2 separate regions of the Homo sapiens genome follow, and region 1 is linked to region 2. The links are contacts of gene promoters, found by promoter capture Hi-C in blood cells and fetal thymus (Javierre and others, 2016). All regions are on one chromosome and are shown on one strand. Each heading gives the region's core, a stretch centred on a gene start or on the middle of the fragment in contact. The rest is flanking DNA. Distances are from core to core; before and after follow the strand shown. Region 1 overlaps CEP164 (centrosomal protein 164). Region 2 holds the start of APOA4 (apolipoprotein A4).

Region 1 (3,485 bases), core at 777-3,276, 530 kb before region 2:
CCAATATGGTAAAACCCTGTCTCTACTAAAATACAAAAATTAGCCGGGCATGGTGGCAGGTGCCTGTAATCCCAGCTACTGAGGAGGCTAAGGCAGGAGAATCACTTGAACCTGGGAGATAGAGGTTGCAGTGAGGTGACATCATGCCATTTCACTCCAGCCTGGGTTACAGAGTGAGACCCTGTCTCAAAAAAAAAAAAAAGAACCCTGCCCAAAGTCACAGAGCCAGTGAGGGGCAGAGATGGGATTGGAACCCAAGGCTATCTCTAAGACAGTACTTTATACCAGCTCTGGCTGTGGCAGAAAGAAGAGCCTAGGACATACATGGTCCCTGACACCTATAACCCCAGTACTTTCGGAAGCCAAGGCAGGAGGATCACTTTTAGGCCAGGGGTACAAGACCAGTCTGGGCAACACAGTAAGACCCCATGTCTACAAAAAAATAATTTTTAATTAGCTGGGTATAGTGGTACACATCTGTAGTCCCAGCTACTCGGGAGGATTGCTTAAGCCCAGGAGCTCAAGGCTGCAATGAGCTACGATCACACCATTGAACTCCAGCATGGACAACAGAGCAAAACTCTGGTCTCTTAAAAAAAAAAAAAAAAAAGGCCGGGGGAGGGGAAGAGCCCAAGAAAGCTTCTTCAAGGTTAACTAGGCAAACCAGGCATGCCCCTCCTGGTTTCAGCCCTTCAAACCAGCCTATGTATCAGCAAGCAAAATTATCCCCACACTGTATTTATGGAAATACAGACTCCTAACATGGCTGGCTAATTTGCTAACATGCTGGGGGCTTGAGGGAGGGAGACAAGCATGCTGAGGGCTTTGTTCTCCCAGGCCTTGACCAAATCAGCGATTAGTGGAGAAATTATACATTCCTGGCTCCTAGCTGATCATCTTCTATAGATGGCCATTAACTCTGAGTATGGGGCTATGCGTGGAGTTGTCCTTCAGAGCAGATAGACTTACTGCCACTGGGCTAATTAAAACTTTCAGGATAATCTGCAGCTTATCCGATATTTATAGTGCTACAGTAGTTATTAAAGCTAACAGAGAACCAGTGCAAGCCAGCAATTAGGAAGCAGAGGGAACAACTGGATAAAGCCACAGCTGGGCAACAACAAAAGAATAGCTGGAGAAATTCAGATTGATCCCCATGGTCTCTGATCCAACTTGACTTCTGAATGAAGAATATAGTGACTCTTTAAAGGGACAAAGGTAGAATGATAGGGCAAGGTCAGCCATTTGATAAATCCCAGTAGAGGAGGAAGTGAACTCAAGAGTGACGTCACAAATATGGTCTACACAAGCCTGACACAGGTTATCCATGTGGTTTTCTGGGGACCCTAGGAGGCAAAGAGCAGAAGCAGCTCACTGGATGGCAGAGAAAGGTTCTGGCCTCCGTCTCTCATAAGAATATTAGCTCTCAGCCCAGGCACGGCAGTTCACACCTGTAATCCCAGGACTTTGGGAGACTGAAGCAGGCAGATCACTTGAGGTCAGGAGTTTGATACCAGCCTGGCCAACATGACAAAACTCCGTCTCTGCTAAAAATACAAAAATTAGCCAGGTGTGTTAGCACACGCCTGTAGTCCCAGCTACTCAGGAGGCTGAGGCACAAGAATAGCTTGAACCCAGGAGGTGGAGGTTGCAATGACCTGAGATGGCACCATTGCACTCCAGCCTGGGCAACAGAGCAAGACTGTCAAAAAAAAAAAAAAAAAAAAGAATATTAACTCTCTAATCAGGTGCAGTGGCTCATGTCTATAATCCCAGCACTTGGGGAGGCCAAGGCAGGTGGATCACTTGAGACCAGGAGTTCGAGACCAGCCTGGCCAACATGGCAAAACTCCATTTCTACTAAAAACACAAAAAAATTGGCTGGGAGTGGTGGTGAGCACCTGTAATCCCAGCTATTTGAGGGGCTGAGGCACGAAAATCACTTGAACCTGGGATTCAAGCGATGGAGGTGCAGATTGCAGTGAGCCAAGATCCACTGCACTCCAGCCTGGGCAACAGAACAAAACCCTGTCTAAAAAATAAAATAAAAATAAAAAATAATATTAACTTTCTAGTTCTGTCTGATTTCGAGAAGAAATAAAGTTCAGAGCTTTGGGGTAGGCTGCCTATTTCCAAATAGGAAGGACCTCTCTCTAGAATCAGCTGATAGGAAAAACTTCCCAAATCCCAGGAAGGTGTTTATATCCTGCACGAATGCCAGGATTAGCGACGTTCTGCTCACCCGCAAAACTGATCATGTTCAAAGCACATGAACCACCCATGAATTACAATTACAGCCAGGGAAGGGAAATCAGAGATACCCTCAGCCCTATCTTGCAGGTGATGGAGTAGAAGAAACTTCAAGTATGTGTCATTCCATAAAATGGCCATTTGGGTAGTTAAAGGGCCAATAGTTACCACGGTAGGGTGGGTAACAGGAATGCAGGCCTGATGGCTGTGGTAAGACATCAACTCCACCTGCTCCCTCCCTGCCAAGTTTAGGCCTTTAGGCCATGCTCACTAAGAAGCCTACCTGGTTGAGATGCTGCATCTTGCCTGGCTCTGTAGTAAGCCCTCTGCTGGAGCTCTGCTGGACTAGCCCCTGCCTGAGGGTGCTGCTGCTTGGCTGGAAATGGGCTTGCTGAGAGGCCTCTTGCCAAGCAGGGGCGAGGGCCACCTCCTGAGGATGTTCCAGCAGCTCTGGCTCCCATGACAGAAACCTCGAGTCCCTCTCCATGACTCTGATGGCCTCGTGCTCACCCTCACTAGACATCCTAGAAGACTCAGCTGCCATGCAACAGACTGTGCTGGCGCTGTGTCTGCACGGCATGTCCTGCATGCTCTCAGGCAGCCCCAGGCCCTCCGGCCACCTGGAGATCTTGACCATCTGCAGGATGTGCTGGTAGAACCTCTGGTCCTCAGAGTAGTCTTCACTTTCTGACTGCTCCTCGTCAGGGCTCTGCATGTGGGACATGTGAGGATCTAAGAAGGGGCTGAAGTGTTGATCTCTGAGACCCGAGTCTGACTGAGCCATACCCTCCTCAGATCCCCGTGAGCTCTGCAGGTTCCAAGGGAAGTTGTTCACCTCATCCAGGACAGGAGAGCCCAGGTGTGAGGCCAGGTTGCTGTTGCTGCTGCTGCTGCTGCTGCTCTCCAAGTCAGGCCCAGACAAGCTAGGCTTCTGATCTTTATAAGGGAGCTCTGCAGACCCTAGGGCCTGTCTCTTCTCACTGGCAGGAGGCTCCTCGGGAGCCCTCCCTAAAAGGGGATTCTGAGCTGGTTCTGATGCCAGGGTTTCAGGTGGTATTAGCAAGAGACCCTGAGGTAGATCTTCAGCTGAGGCCCCTAGAGCCTCAGGGTCACTGGGCTCTGTTTCCTTGCAGCTTCCTGGGATATCCTTATTGACAAGCTTGGAGACCTGTTCCATCCACAGTCCAGGAGGTTCTCTCCTCCTCCTCCCGCTGCCTATGCTCCCACCTTCCCCA
Region 2 (3,169 bases), core at 670-3,169:
GCAACTATTTTTCAGAGCTTACTCTGTGCCAGGAGCTCTATAGGCAGCCCTCTGTATCCTTGGTTTCTGTGTCCATGGATTCAACCAACCTTGGATTGAAAATAATTTTTTAGGCCGGGCGTGGTGGCTCACGCCTGTAATCTCAGCACTTTGGGAGGTTGAGGCGGGCGGATCACGAGGTCAGGAGATCGAGACCATCCTGGCTAACACGGCGAAACCCCATCTCTACTAAAAATACAAAAAAAAAAAAAAAAATTAGCCGGGCGTGGTGGCGGGCGCCTATGGTCCCAGCTACTTGGGAGGCTGAGGCAGGAGAATGGCGTGAACCCGGGAGGCAGAGCTTGCAGTGAGCCGAGATCGTGCCACTGCACTCCAGCCTGGGTGACAGAGCAAGACTCCATCTCAAAAAAAAAAAAAAAAAAAAAAATATATATATATATATATATATATTTTTTTTTTTAAATTGCATCTGTGGGCCGGGTGCAGTGGCTCATGCCTGTAAGCCCAGCATTTTAGGAGGCAGAGATTGGAGGATCACTTAAGGCCAGGAGTTGGAGACCAGCCTGAGCAACATAGCGACACCCCATCTCCATTAAAAACAATGTTTTAAAAAAATTGCATCTGGGCAGGGCGCAGTGGCTCACGCCTATAAGCCCAGCACTTTGGGAGGCCCACATGGGAGGATTGCTTGAGGCCAGGAGTTGGAGACCAGCCTGAGCAACATGGTGAAACCCCGTCTCTGCTGTAAATACACAAATTAGCTGGGCGTGGTGGTGGGTGCCTGTAATCCCAGCTACTCAGGAGGCTGAGGCAGGAGAATCACTTGAACCTGGGGGGCAGAGATTGCAGTGAGCTAAGATCGTGCCACTGCACTCCAGCCTGGGTGACAGAGTAAGACTCCATCTCAAAAAAAAAAAAAATTGCACCTGTACTAAACATATACAGACTTTTTTGGTGATTACCTCCTAAACAATACAGTATAACAACCATTCACACAGCATTTCCGTCGTATTAGGTATTATAAGTAATCTAGAGATTTAAAGTATGTGGGAGGCTGTGCTTAGGTTATATGCAAATACTATGCCATTTTATATCAAGGACTTGAACATCCATGGATTTTGGTATCTGCAGAGGGTCCTGGAATCAATTTCCCATGGAGACTGAGAGATGACCGTACTACCCACTTCGCAAGCAATGTCTTCTTTAATGTACTGAACCATCCCATTGTTCAGAGGAGAAACTGAAGCTCAGGGCTTTGAATAACTAGACCAAGGAGGCACAGCATGGGAGTGGGACATGAAGCACTCTACAATTAACCCTTTCAGGACAAGGCCCTGTCTCCCACACCCATCTGCCCAAAGGCTCTCCAGGGCCCCCTCCTCTTGGGTGTACCTTGACAAGAGACCTAGATTTTAGCTCACTATGCTGTCTGCAGTCCTGGATGGTCCCACTCCAGTGTCTGGTGCTCTGAGATGGAGTCAGCATTAGTGGCGGATGTGGAGACTGGGGGGACCTGTCTTCACTGGGGTAGACAGAGGAGATGTGGACTTTGCCCCCCATGAGCCCGGCACAAACCCAGAGCCGCCAGCAGGGCCTCGAGGCATCAGTCCCGGGCTCATGGGCTCCCTGAGGTGTTTCTCCTACTGTTTTCCGTTCCCCTCCTCCCTTCCATGCTGAGGTTGGTGGGGTGGGGGTGGGGGTGCCCACGCACGGAACAGCCACCACTTCTAACTATCGCCTGAGCCCTGATCTGCTGTCAGCTTCCACGTAGTCTCAGGGTCACAAAAGTCCAAGAGGCCTCTTGGGAATGTGTCACCTTCCAGCGTGGAGTCACACTGAGGAAGGAGGAGGGGAGGGCAGCCAGGGGGGTGGCGATAGGGAGAGAGTTTAAATGTCTGGCTGGCTCTGAGCTTCAGTCAGTTCCCACTGCAGCGCAGGTGAGCTCTCCTGAGGACCTCTCTGTCAGCTCCCCTGATTGTAGGGAGGATCCAGTGTGGCAAGAAACTCCTCCAGCCCAGCAAGCAGCTCAGGATGTTCCTGAAGGCCGTGGTCCTGACCCTGGCCCTGGTGGCTGTCGCCGGTGAGTAGAAGCTGTCTTTGGATGGCACTCCTGGGCTGCTGCTCTGAGTAGTGCAGGATGGAGGCTGAGCCAAAGCAAAAGGACACTTCTGAGTGCCCATCAGCCCCCAGCTGGACATGAGGTCTGCCTGGCTGCCAAGTGGCTCACAGGAGAGCTGGCCCAGTCCCAGTGGTGGGCCCATTGGCATTGGTGCTATACCAGTTTCACATATCCCTGTGGCTTCCAAAAAGCTAAGCTCAGACAGGGAAAATGGCAGGTTGAGGCACCCCCACCATCATCCAGTCTGCAGCTCAGAGCTGGAGCAGAGGGGCCACACAGGAGACGGGGCCTCATGAATTGCTCTCTGTTACCACCCAGGAGCCAGGGCTGAGGTCAGTGCTGACCAGGTGGCCACGGTGATGTGGGACTACTTCAGCCAGCTGAGCAACAATGCCAAGGAGGCCGTGGAACATCTCCAGAAATCTGAACTCACCCAGCAACTCAAGTAAGAGGGACTACAGTGTGCGGTGGTGACGGGGAATTCTTAAAGGCCATGCAATGTACTGGCAAGGGTTGAGCTTAGAGACAGGAGCCCTGAGCTTAGGATACCCACTGCCCTGCCACTAACTGGCCGGGCCTCTGAACCTAGGATCCACATATGTAAACCGGAAGTTTGGACCGAATAATCCCTGCCATGTCCTTTTGCTTTGACGTTCTAGAGTTTGACAAATGGCCACATCCTATCATTCAGGCTCATGGAAGAGAGGGAGGGAGGAAAATGTCACGTGAGCTGATTTCTAATACGTTTCAGAAAGACAGGCCCCAGTGGAATCAAGGGGAGGGAGGTGGGAATATTTGGGAGGCCCCTGGGCACAGGCAAGGAAAGCAGCACCTTGTGCCACTGGAAGACCCCAGCAGAGGTCAAGAAGACAACATTGTGTTACACAATGTGATCCTATGGCCCAGAACACTCCCTCTGGGAAGGACCTCAAAGTCCCACCCTCTGCAGACAAGGAGGGGAAAGCAAACTGCTGGAGGTGACATGGTGGGTAGATTCTGAGACAAACTATGTGGGAGATCCTGAGATAGAAATTCAGCATCGTAACTTAG

What was found. The method cuts DNA at HindIII sites, captures the fragments that hold promoters and counts their contacts. A CHiCAGO score of 5 or more calls a contact.
Region 1: a fragment that was not itself captured here is called in contact with the fragment with the promoter of APOA4 in region 2 in 1 of 17 cell types (neutrophils); the score reaches 6.2 in neutrophils.

The regions. Positions count from the first base shown.
Region 1 is chr11:117,355,666-117,359,150 of GRCh38, reverse strand. The region is part of intron 5 of CEP164 (centrosomal protein 164); the gene reads right to left. Among named protein-coding and RNA genes, the nearest start is that of CEP164, 30 kb to the right of the region's middle. The HindIII fragment of the contact is 2,770 bases long and covers 642-3,411 here.
Region 2 is chr11:116,822,054-116,825,222 of GRCh38, reverse strand. APOA4 (apolipoprotein A4) reads left to right here and starts at 1,919. Exons shown (of 3, transcript NM_000482.4): 1 at 1,919-2,080; 2 at 2,438-2,564. The coding sequence starts at 2,032. The HindIII fragment of the contact is 18,172 bases long and covers 1-3,169 here.